Regions from separate parts of the Homo sapiens genome. Here region 1 is linked to region 2. Evidence: promoter capture Hi-C in 16 types of primary human blood cells and fetal thymus (Javierre and others, 2016). All regions are on one chromosome and are shown on one strand. The core of a region is centred on a gene start or on the middle of the fragment in contact, and the rest is flanking DNA. Distances in the headings are between cores, read along the strand shown. Region 1 overlaps BRD9 (bromodomain containing 9). Region 2 holds the start of CEP72 (centrosomal protein 72).

Evidence for each region. The method cuts DNA at HindIII sites, captures the fragments that hold promoters and counts their contacts. A CHiCAGO score of 5 or more calls a contact.
Region 1: a fragment that was not itself captured here is called in contact with the fragment with the promoter of CEP72 in region 2 in 1 of 17 cell types (endothelial precursors); the score reaches 5.4 in endothelial precursors.

The regions. Positions count from the first base shown.
Region 1 is chr5:869,518-875,246 of GRCh38, reverse strand. It overlaps BRD9 (bromodomain containing 9), which reads left to right. Exons shown (of 16, transcript NM_023924.5): 13 at 3,683-3,721; 14 at 4,672-4,774. Among named protein-coding and RNA genes, the nearest start is that of BRD9, 20 kb to the left of the region's middle. The HindIII fragment of the contact is 1,164 bases long and covers 1,822-2,985 here.
Region 2 is chr5:607,872-613,666 of GRCh38, reverse strand. It overlaps CEP72 (centrosomal protein 72), which reads right to left and starts at 1,327. Exons shown (of 12, transcript NM_018140.4): 1 at 1,224-1,327. The coding sequence starts at 1,305. It overlaps CEP72-DT (CEP72 divergent transcript), which reads left to right and starts at 1,457. Exons shown (of 3, transcript NR_103444.1): 1 at 1,457-1,515; 2 at 1,914-2,220. RefSeq lists enhancers at 544-1,473, 1,474-2,404. The HindIII fragment of the contact is 7,839 bases long and covers 634-5,795 here.

The DNA.
Region 1 (5,729 bases), core at 1,154-3,653, 260 kb before region 2:
TTTTACATCTTTAAAAGGGTGTTTACAGAAAAGAAAAGGAAGAAGAAGATGCTTCGGGCAGCGTGTGGCTCACAGAGCCTCGGCTGCTCACTCCCGGGCCCTCGGCAGGACGGGATCTGGCCGGTGCTCTAGGAGCTTTTGAACTTTTATCTTTCTTTATCAGTGATTTTCAGCATTGTATTTTCCAGGTGCCTTGGTGGGCTTTTCTTTGTGTTCTACTTAGCATTTGTTGTTTCTTGGATCTGTCTGTAGTTTTCATCATATTTGGAAGATTTTTAGCCATTACTCAAATGTCATTTTCCACCACTGCCTCTTCCTCCTCCTGCTGGACTGTGGCACTCTGAGGACAGCTCGTGTTATCTCACATGGCACCGACACTGTGCTGCCGCACCAGGCTGCTGCAGATTAGTTTCTGATGCTGTTGGCTAAGTTCACTCACCTGTTCTCTGGCCACACCTGAACCTGTTATCCCAGATCAGTTTTCACTGATGATGTCGTCCCGCGCTGCTCATCACTTGGGCTCCATTTGCTGCTTTTGTGTATCTTCTCTCATGTTGTGTGTATGTTTTTCCTTACATCCTTGAGCCACGTTCGTATTTATTGCTGCTGCTTTTGAAGTCCTCAGTCACTGAGTCTGTCGCCTCTGCCGTTTCCGGTTCTGTTTCTGTTTGACACTTTGCTGCACTTGGAGCTGTGGGCCATTGTGCACGTGCCTGGTGGACAGTCCTGACCCTCGCTGTCTGATAAAAAAGCACTGGCCACATGGCCGCTGGGAAATTTGAATGTGGCCAGTCTGAATTTAGATGTGATGTGTGAGCTACAAACTAGATCTTAAAAAACTAATGCAAAAAACGTAAAAATATGAGTAACGATTTCTTATGGCCCACATGTTGGAATAAAAACATCTTCAATAAATTTGTCTAAGTAAAATGCATTAGTTAATTGAATGTTAAGAGTAATTTTAATGTGGCAGCTAGAATTTTAAGAGCTGGGTATGGTGGCATGCACCTGTCATCAGCTCCACAGGAGGCTAAGGTGGGAGGATCACTTGAGGCCGGGAGGTCGAGGCTGCAGTGCGATTGCACCACCGCACTCTAGGCAATAGAGCAAGACCCTGTCTCAAAAAAAAGATAAAAAAACATTTAGAACGAGGCGTGTGCTCGCGTTATGTCTGCTGGGCAAGGCTGATCTGGGTTCTTTCTCTCTTTCAGAGAATACTGATGATCATTTTGGCAGTTGTTACTTGTGGATAATGGCCGGATCCTACCAGGCTTGTCTGGGGTGGGTCCAGGGCAGCCTTATTCTAGGGTTCGTGTAGCCTTAATGCTAAGGAGTGGCCCTTCGGGGAGCCCTGTCTTTTCAGCGTGGTCTCTGCTGTGGGTGGAGTTCGGATGAGTCTCTGTCCTTCCCAGGCTCTGAGAACGTTTGGCTCATGGCTCCCAAGGAGGGGTCAGTCCCTTGACCTGACGGTTTCATCTGTGCTTGTTACAGATGAACTGGGGTCCACATGCCTGGTGCAGTAAACCCAGACACCCATGCCGAGGTTTTGTCATAGAAAGGACGTGTGTATTTGCAGGGCGCCAAGCAAGGTGGGCCAGGAGGCTCATGTATAAATCCTGGCCTCCCCCACTGGCTACAGGCAAGGCTTGTAAAGCGGGGGTAGATCTCAGGAAAGCAGAACTGAAAGGCAGAGTCGTGCATAAGGACACAGAGGTTACATGTCGGCTTGGCCTAGAAGGGCGGTATCTGCAAGCAGGGCCTTATAGGTTATAGGTGGATTCAAAGGTTTTCTGATTTGCAGCTGGTTAAGGAGGAGAAGCTTTGTTTAAAAATTTGGGGTGAAGAGAAAAGAATGTTAGCTTAGGCTTGTGGGTGTGGCTTCCTCCAGGCCCGTCAGGAAGAAATTCAGAACAAAGAACGGGGTCAGAGCTCAGTCTTCAGTTTCTCCTTATCTGAGCCCTTCATGCCAGTAGATTAGTTTGTTGGGGAGGTCCTAGGTGGAGGGTCCAGGTTTCTGAAAGACAACTCAGGGATATACATTAAGATGTTATCTTTACTTTCTTTCTTTTTTTTTCTTTTTGAGACATAGAGTCTCACTCTGTCACCCAGGCTGGAGTGCAGTGGCGTGATTGTGGCTCACTGCAACCTCTGCCTCCCTGATTCTAGCGATTCTCCTGCCTCAGCCTCCCGAGTAGCTGGGATTACAGGCATGCGCCACCACACCTGGCTAATTTTTGTATTTTTAGTAGAGGCGGAGTTTCGCCATGTTGGCCAGGCTGGTCTTTAACTCCTGACCTCAAATGATGCATCCATCTCAGCCTCCCAGAGTGGTAGGATGTTGTCTTTTCTTTCTACAGGGAACAGTGCTGGGAGGTTGTCTTTACTTTCTACAGGGAACAAACATCTGTCTCCACCTTCCTTGACTGTTGTTTTAGGATACTGTTACCTTCTTGCTTATCAAGTCGCTGATTTACTTCTCAGAGTTATCTAAGTAACTGGAATTTCCCTTGAAGGAACTCAAGATTTTCCTTGATTTCCATGCTTGGAGGGCTCGCAGGCCCCTGAAGAGAGGGTTGCAGCCAGGCGGGAGTCCCCAAGCAGATTTCTGCAGCTCTGAGGAGCAGCCCCCTCTGCAGAGCCTGCCCCACCAGCTCGTGGTTCTGACTCTGAGCTCTGGTCACCCTCCCGTGTCGTGGCCTGCAGGCTCCTTCCAGGCAGGAAGCTGGCCCCCCCAACACAGCGTTAGAATCAGGCATTGCTGTGGGGTAGGGAAAGTGACCCCCTCACAGCCCGGAAATGGGAAGGCTCTGTGGTTTCCTCTCTGGGTTCCAGTTAGATTCCTTTCGGGAAAGTGAACTTGGATATGGAGTTGAGTGACCCCGAGTGCACCCCCGCAGTAAATGATGCTCAGGACTAAAGTGACTGAAGGCTTTTGGGGAAACAGATGCGAACAAAACAGCAGTATTCATTTTCTAATTAAAAGCTTGTGAAAATCGATGTCATTGAATCTGAGAAACATTATTTCGAACAAAGATCACACATGATAGAGTGCATATACTACAGCATCGCTCCACCGGAGCACAGGACGGGTGTGCCACGGAGGCCGACAGTTGTGGAAGGAGACAATGCACGGCCCGGCCCACCTGCTGCAGGCACCGCCAGGAGGTGTCTGCCTCCTTCGCTCCTGCGCCCACGGCAGGCCCACCTGCCACAGGCACTGCCAGGAGGTGTCTGCCTCCTTTGCTCCTGCACACACCTGCCCCTGCAGGACTCGAGCTGGTCTCAGGCAACTGGTCATATTCCAGGTGGAACCCACGAGACCCTTCTTATCCTAAGCTTCCCATAGGATCTAGGCACATCTTTTTTCTTTTGTTTTAAGCCACCCAAGGCTGCCGAAACAGCATCGGCGTCCTCTCTCTGTCCGCTCCATCTCGCCCTGTGGAGCGCTGTCCCCGGCACACAATCCTGGCGCTGAGGAGGGGGCTGGGCGTGGTTGGGTCAGTGACTGGTGATGAAGAAGGTTTGGAGGACCCCCAGCCTTAATCCATTAAGATGGTGTGACTGGGGAGCAGAATTCGCAGAAGCGCACAAGCCATTTTTACGTGTGTGTAATGTCAGCGAATTGTCCGTTTCTATGAAATCACTCTGGAAAAACTAGTTTCTGTCCTCATTTACTTTTCAGAGAAGAAATGTTCCCATGAAGCCTCCAGATGAAGCCAAGGTAAGTTTTTGAACATGGAAGGGCAAGCCAAATATTATTCTCACAGGGAAAGTTGTATCCAGCCTTTGAGGTGGGGAGGTCTGTGTGTATGACGGCGTTTAGAAATGGAGTCCGTTTCTGATCAGTAAGATCAATAGTGTTTCTCCTCCTCTTTTCATGACTTGAGGTGAGTGGTGTGAAGCCGCAGTACATTCTTCCAAATCCAGAAATGGGTAGTTTCAGAGCAGTTGGCCCCGCTGGGTGCTGTCCTTGTGGGACACCCTTGCAAGGGTTGGGCAGGATGGGCCTTCTCAGGACCTGCTTGGTGAGTAGCAGGTGTTGTCCCAAGCACAGTGGGCTCTGGGGCCAGTGCTGGCAGGGCAGTGCTGTGAGCCCAGACTGCTGCACCTGCCGATTGGCAGGTGTGTGTCTCTGACAGTCAGCAGGCATGGGCTTGGGCTTTGGTCCAGGGTCCCTGGGAACCTGGAGAGACCCCTTAACATCTGTTTGAGGGCAGAGGCCGAGCTGCAGGGAGCTGATGAGAGAGTATGTGTTAGGGTGGCTGTAGTCTAGCCCTGAGGACACGCCTTGCTGGGAAAGGAAAGGGAACGTTGTGTGCTCTGTGAAGTGCCTGAGAAATAGTCCTGGACCCTAAAATTCTGTGTGTCTTCCTGTTGCATAATGTCCCTCCCCAATTTCTTTAGCCCCAAAAAGTTAACAAAGGATTGTTAGTTTGCGTTGTTGGTCTCAGTAGGTTTTTCTTTGACATGGATTTGCATATCCATTCATGAGCTCCAACCTGACAGTCCCTTGAACAGCAGCCTCAGTGAACAGGGCTTGGTCTTGTCACTTACTGAGGGGTGGGTTCACGTTTAGCAAATAATTAGAGTGATTTCAATAGCGAGTGTGAAGTAACATTTCGTTTTTCGTTTGATGTTTGAATTGCTCTTGATGTGTGTCTGTCTCCACAGGTTGGGGACACCCTAGGAGACAGCAGCAGCTCTGTTCTGGAGTTCATGTCGATGAAGTCCTATCCCGACGTTTCTGTGGATATCTCCATGCTCAGCTCTCTGGGTGAGTTGTAACAGGCACTTTCCCACAGCACCTGGTGAAGGTGTGATAGAGGAAGAAAACACACGGCCTCCACCTCCTCTCCCTTCCTGACTAGACAGGGATGCCAGGAAAATCTTTTGTTACGGTATTTGGTCTTTGTCCCAGGTTTTTGGACCATAGCTCCTAAAATCCTTGGAATCTCCTGAGTGTTGTGTCTTTTTTAAGCTAATGAGAAGTGGTTGCAGCCCCTGGGTAACCTCAGGATGGGGTCTGGCCGATCCCCAGTGGCTGTGGATTTCATCAGTGTTGCCTACCGCCTCCATGAAATCCCAAAAGGTGGGGTTCCCTAGGGAGCCTCATTGCTGGACGCCTGGAGGCTCTGGGAAGAAGGCAGCCCCTTCCCACGGGTCCCCTCTGCATCGCTCCCACCTGGGGCCCATCCGTACCCTGGGTGACACCCCGCAGAATAAATGGGTAAATGTCAGCCTAGTGTGTGGACAGAAGAGTCAAACTCTGCAGGGTATTTAGAGAGGTTTCTTCTGAGTGAAATACGAAGACCGTGGCTGTGACACAGTCCCAGGAGGTCCCAAGAACATTTGCCGAGGAGGACTGGTCTGCAGCTTGTTTTGATATGTTTTAGGGAGACAGAGGACATCAGTCAGTACATGTCAGTTGTAACAGTGGTTCGTGTTGGAAAGGCGGGACAACTTGAAGCGAGGAATGTCGGGTCGTTGGTGGATTCAGAGATTTCCTGATTGGCATTTGGTTGAAAGGGTTAAGCTCTGAAGAGCTGAAGTCAGAAAGAAATGTGCATGGTTAACATAAGCAGTTGTAGAAGCCAAGGTTCTTGTCACATAGATGAATTCAGCCTTCAGGTAGCAGGCTTCAAAAAGAGTAGAGTAGATGGCAAACATCACTCATGAGGCCCTCAAAGGTACCAGATTGTTAGTTAAATCTCTGTTGGGTCAGGAAGAGA
Region 2 (5,795 bases), core at 78-2,577:
GCTGGGTGTAGGTGGCTCATGCCTGTAATCCCAGCACTTTGGGAGGCCAAGGCAGGTGGATCACCTGAGATCAGGAGTTCAAGACCAGCCTGGCCAACATGGTGAAACCCCGTCTCTACTAAAAATATAAAAAATTAGCCGGGCATGGTGGCGCGTGCTTGTAATCCCAGCTACTCAGGAGGCTGAGTGAATCACTTGAACCTGGGAGGTGGAGGTTGCAGTGAGCTGAGATTGTGCCACTGCACTCCAACCTGGACGACAGAGTGAGACTCCGTCTAAAAAAAAAAAACCGCTCAGATCTCCTTGGGGAGATGGATTGAGGCCTCCTTCCACCTCCCTGCTGGGCCCCTGCCAGCCTTAAACTCTTTCTCTGCTGCAAACCCCACTGTCTCAGTGTATTGGCCTGTGGCCCCCACAGCACCTGACTGAACCTGTTGGTCCAGTAACACCTGCAGACCACACACAGACATTAACAGGCTAACAACAGAACACCAGAAACAACTCAACACACACACTCCACAAGTTAGCTCAAATAAGCCAATGCCACAAAACCCCACACAGCCAAGACTCGCGGTGAACTAATATGAACGGTTCTCTAACAACCAGAGATACAGAATTTGTCATTTAAAAGCTTCAAAAACAGAAATTGACATGTCCATATGGTTTCACTGGAAAATTCCAGGAAACATTCAAACAATGAGCACACACTCTACAGAACCTCTTCTAAATATAAGAGAAGGCAACACTTCTCAGCAGTTTATGAGCTCGGCTTCACCTTGACGCCAAAACCAGACAAAAATAAGCCAAAAAGAAGGAAACCGGCCACCAACATCCTCAAGAAGGCCGAGCGCAACAATCACCACAGAGTGGGCCCAGGAGAACCAGGGAGGTGATCCCCAGCGGGAGGGCGGGCTGCGCTCCTGGACAGCAAGGCCGGCTCCCTCTTCTCAGCGGATGTAACCCCCAGTCACGGAACCAGTGACCCGATAGACAGGCAGGGGCCGGGACGCCGGGACCCGAACGCGGGCAGGGGCCGCACCTGGGCACGGGGGGTGGGTCGCTCACCTGGACACGCGCGCCCCGCTCGCCCGCGACCGTTCCGGACGCCCGCGGCGCCTGCGTAGACGGGTCCCGCCTGCCCACGGTCCGCCGCCGCCCCGGGAAGCTCGGCACCCACCCCCCCGCCACCTCACGCTTGCACCCCCGCCCGCCCTCCGGCGCACCCAGGTCGCGGTGAGGCCCTAAGCCGCTCTTCGCCCGAACCGCCTCCTCGCTCAGCACCAGCCGAGGGCCAGCCCGCGCCATGTTTCAAACGGAGCCCTCGGACGGCGCCTGCGCGGCGGGCGGGGCGAGGCTACGAGAGGGGCGGGACCTGCGTCGGCAGAACCGAGAGCCTGGCGGGACGGGGCGGGGCCTGCGCGGCGGGGCGAGGGGCGTGGCTGGGGGAGGGGGCGGGACTGCGTGGGCGGAACCAAGAGCCTGGCGGGGGGTTCTCCTGAATGGCGGTTCTCCCAGGTACTGGCCACGCGACCCCAGCCCCCGCCCCAGATAGCTCCCTGTCAAGGCTTCCCTGGGCGCGGCCGCCTTCTAGGCCCCGGCCCTTGACACACGCGGTGTCCTCCCGGGGAAACCCCGAGTAGGCGCGGTGGAATCGCGGCTGGTGGTGGGCATGGGGACCCTGCCCCATCCACACTCCGCTCCCACCCTGAACCCAGCGCCCCCGGGGACCCCCGACTCACCTAGACTCCCCACCCAACCCGACCCCCCCGCGGGGACCCCTCCAGACACCCCAGCACCCGCCCGGAGCCTTGTCTGCTGCACCTCCCGTCCAGCCCCGGGCCTCCCAGAGGTGGGCGGGAGCTGAGCTTCTCCCCAGCCAGTCACTCCCCACGGCCGGTCCTTCTCCACCCCAGAACCTCCAGAGATGTCACAGGCCCAGCACTGTGGCTCGTGGCTGACCGCGCCCTGGAGGGTCTCGCTGTGTTTATCCTTGTGAGGTCCTTCTACAGAGCTTTCAAGGAAGACAGAGTTCAGCCTGTTTATTGGGAAGACTTTAATCCTGCTCAAGACATCTACTGTGTCACCGTACCACTGTGGCCCAGCGCCTGGTGGAGTGAATCCAGACCCCCAGGGGTGTCCCCTCCCCGCCTTTCTCCTGGTGTCTAGGGGCACCCAGAAACCCTCACCCCAGATTAGACCAGCTCGTTGGCAACATCCCTGGTATGTCACAGCCTGGGGGGTGATAGACAAGGCAGGGTAGTGGTGGGGGGTACGTATGGTGGTAGTAGACGAGGGTATACACAGACAGAGGGTGTACATGGGGAATGTGTGCAGGGGCTGTGTGCAGGGAGTGTGTGTGGATGGTGTAGGGGAGTGTGTAGGGGAGTGTGTAGGGGGTGTGTGCAGAGGTTGTACACGGGGTGTGCAGGAGGTGTACTCAGAATGTGTTCAGGGAGTGTGTGCAGAAGGTGTACATGGGGTGTATGCAGGAGGAGTGTGCAGAGGGTGTACATGTAGGGGGTGTGTGCAGACAGTATACAGAAGGGGTGTGTGCAGAGGATGCACACAGGGTCTCTGCAGGGAGTATGTGCAGTGCTGTACATAAGGAGTATGCAGGGGGTATATACAGGGTGTATGTGCAAGGGGTGTGTGCAACAGTGTGTGCAGGAGGTGTGTGCAGGGTCTATGTGTGGGGGTGTGTGCAACAGTGTGTGCAGGAGGTGTGTGCAGGAGGTGTGTGCAGGAGCTATGTGTGGGGGTGTGTGCAACAGTATGTGCAGAGGTGTGTGTAGGGGCTATGTGTGGGGGTGTGTGCAACAGTGTGTGCAGGAGGTGTGTGCAGGAGGTGTGTGCAACAGTGTGCAGGGGGTGTACACAAGGTGTGTGCAGGAGGTGTGTGTAGATGTGTGTGCAGGAGGTATACACAGGGTTTGTGCAGAGGATGTGTGTGGGAGGTGTGTGCAGGGGATCTGTGCAGGGAGTGTACACAGGCTGTGTGCAGAGGCTATGTGCAGGGGGTGTGTGCAACAGTGTGCAGGGAGTGTACACAAGGTGTGTGCAGGAGGTGTGTGCAGAGGTGTGTGCAGGAGGTATACATGGTGTGTGAAGGTATGTGTAGAGGTGTGTGCAGGGGGTATACACAGGGTTTGTGCAGAGGATGTGTGAGGGAGTTGTGTGCAGGGGATCTGTGCAGGGAGTGTACACAGGCTGTGTGCAGGGGGTATGTGCAACAGTGTGCAGGGGGGGTGTGTGCAGAGGTGTGTGCAGGGGGTGTACACAGAGGGTGGTGGCAGGCGGTGGATGCAAGGCTGCATCTGTTCAGCCCAAGACGTTCCATTGGTCCAGTGGTGTTAGAGCACATTTGGTCAGGTTGCCTTCATGGGATATTTGACAAGCTGCAAACCCGAGGGCATGCTGGTGCCCGAGGGCGCCTCCGTGCTGACCTCAGCATGTGCAGCAAGAGCCAGGGCACAGGGGCGGCCTGGCCCATTTCAGGCAGGTGCTCTGTGGGAGGGTGGCTGTCTCCACTGACAACCCAGGGAGGTCAGCAAGGAGGAGCCCTGAGGTGGACTCGAAAGCTGTGGGAGCTGATGGCCCTCCTGGTCTCTGCCACAGCCCTTAGGCTGTGGGACACACAGCGTCACATTTGATCACTGTTCATGGGGCCTGCCGAACACTCAGCATTCCTGAGTGCAGATCGTCACGTAACTTTCCAAAAATTGCAAACCCAGATATGGCTCCATGACCCCTCCTGCAAGACTGTGAAGGAGTTCAGGGCACAGCTGAGCCCTCACACCCCCAGCCCCATCACTGCCCCTGATATGCACTGAGTGGAATTCTGTCCCGCCAGGAGACAAACAGTGGACAGCATCCTGGCTCTTCAGAAGCACATGACGATGGCAAACTGAAGGCCTCATGGGCCCTCACCCAACAGCAGTGGCTTTTCAGGGCATAACACAGGCCCCAAACACTGAGCCTCTTCCTCCTGGGCAGGTACCCAGCTGGCCAGACAGGGCAGGGTAGGGGCGAGTGGGACCTCAGTGGGCAGCCGGTCCAGGACAGAACCACACGGGGATGTGATGGAAGTACCAATGGGAACTTTGAAAACAATGCCTCTGCTCACCAAAGTATCCCAGCTTCACTGTAGAAAATATAGACACTACAGAAGGGCACCGAGATTCGATATGCCGCCCTGCTGAGATAACCCACACTAACATGCCCACATGTATCCTGCAGGTGTTTTTCAAGCCTGTGCGTATTGACAGTCATGAGGCTATGCTAAGCATTGCCGGATGCATCTGCCACTAAGTAGTCTTTAACGTTGTTTATTAAACACTTTTAATGGTCACGTTAGATCATAAACCAAACCCAACTTTATTATCCTGTCTTCTGCTGCTGAAAGTTGTGTCTGTCTCCACTTCCTCACGGTGCTCACTCTGGTTGGCCAAATCATGAAGATCCATGGAGGCGCGGGAGCCTTCCGGCCTGGAATGGGGCAGCAAAAGCACAGAGCCGCAGAGAAGCCGGGAAAGCAAAGGCAGGGGCTGCTGGGCTGGGCCCCATCAGCCCCATGGCAGCGGCACCCGCACAGGCCTGGGGTCCCCAGCAGCAGGGATGCTGTCTGTGGGCCCAGGGCTCCTCCACAGCTTTGGGGGCTTCCTGCCAGAGGAGGGGGGTGGTTCTCCTGGGAGGGGCCCCAAGACAGGAGTCCCCAGACCTGGGCACGCCTCACCTCGGGTAGGGCCCCAACGCTTCAGCGGGTCTCACTGGCATCCCTAAACCTAGACCACAGGAGAGTGTGCTGTGCCATCATCACGATGACCCCTCCCCATCCCAGCGCACGCTCCCACGACGCACCGTGCTCACAGTGACCCCTCCCCATCCCAGCGCACGCTCCCACAATGTGCCGGGATCACAGTGACCCCATGGGCTACCTGCCGCTCCCAAGGACTAATGGAGGCCTCTGTCCCCAGGTTCTATCCCGGGTTCCTCACAGGGCACCAGCCCTCAGGCCCAGTTAAATTCCGGAGCGGCTCTTTAAGCCCACAGGCCCAGGCCGCTATGGTAGGACCCAGGTGGGAGAGGCTCTCCGTGTGCTGTCTCCCTGACAGGTGCCCCATCCATAGCTTTCTAGAACATCCCAGGGAGGCTCCCAGGCCCCGAGCCTCAATCCTCAAGCCTGTGGGTCCCAGACTGCAGGCTCAGTGAGCCCTACAGAGACCAGGCCAGCGGAAGGAAACAGGGAGACCCACATGGTCAGAGAAGAGGGCTGGAGGTTCAGCCTGAGGGGCCTCTGGGCTTTCTCTAAACAGAGCGGGGGTGGGAGGAGGCTGTGATGTACAGTGAGGGGACTTGAGAGGGAAATGGGGGCCTCCACCCACCCCAGGGACGAGCGCTCACCCCAGGCCCACCTGGCTCGCAGCATCCAAGCCAGGGCTACGCAGAGCAGCTGCTCCCAAACCCAGCTCCCTCTGGGTGCCTGAGCCAGGCTCAGAGATGCATCCTGCATCGTTCTTTCTCCATCCTGTGTCAACAAGACAACACAGGCAACCAGCGTGGCCATGCTGGAAATCCACAGCCTAGCGGAGCGGCCTCGCCTGCATTCATGTGGCCAGTGGAATTCGCGGCACACACATTCGCACTGTCACGCTCAGTTCACGTGTGCACACGCTCACAGCCACAGCACACTCACAGTTCACACACCTCACACGCATACATACACAGGTGTACGTGCACATGCACACTCACGTACACACCCACCCACACACAGTCTCACACCCAGGTTCACACCCACA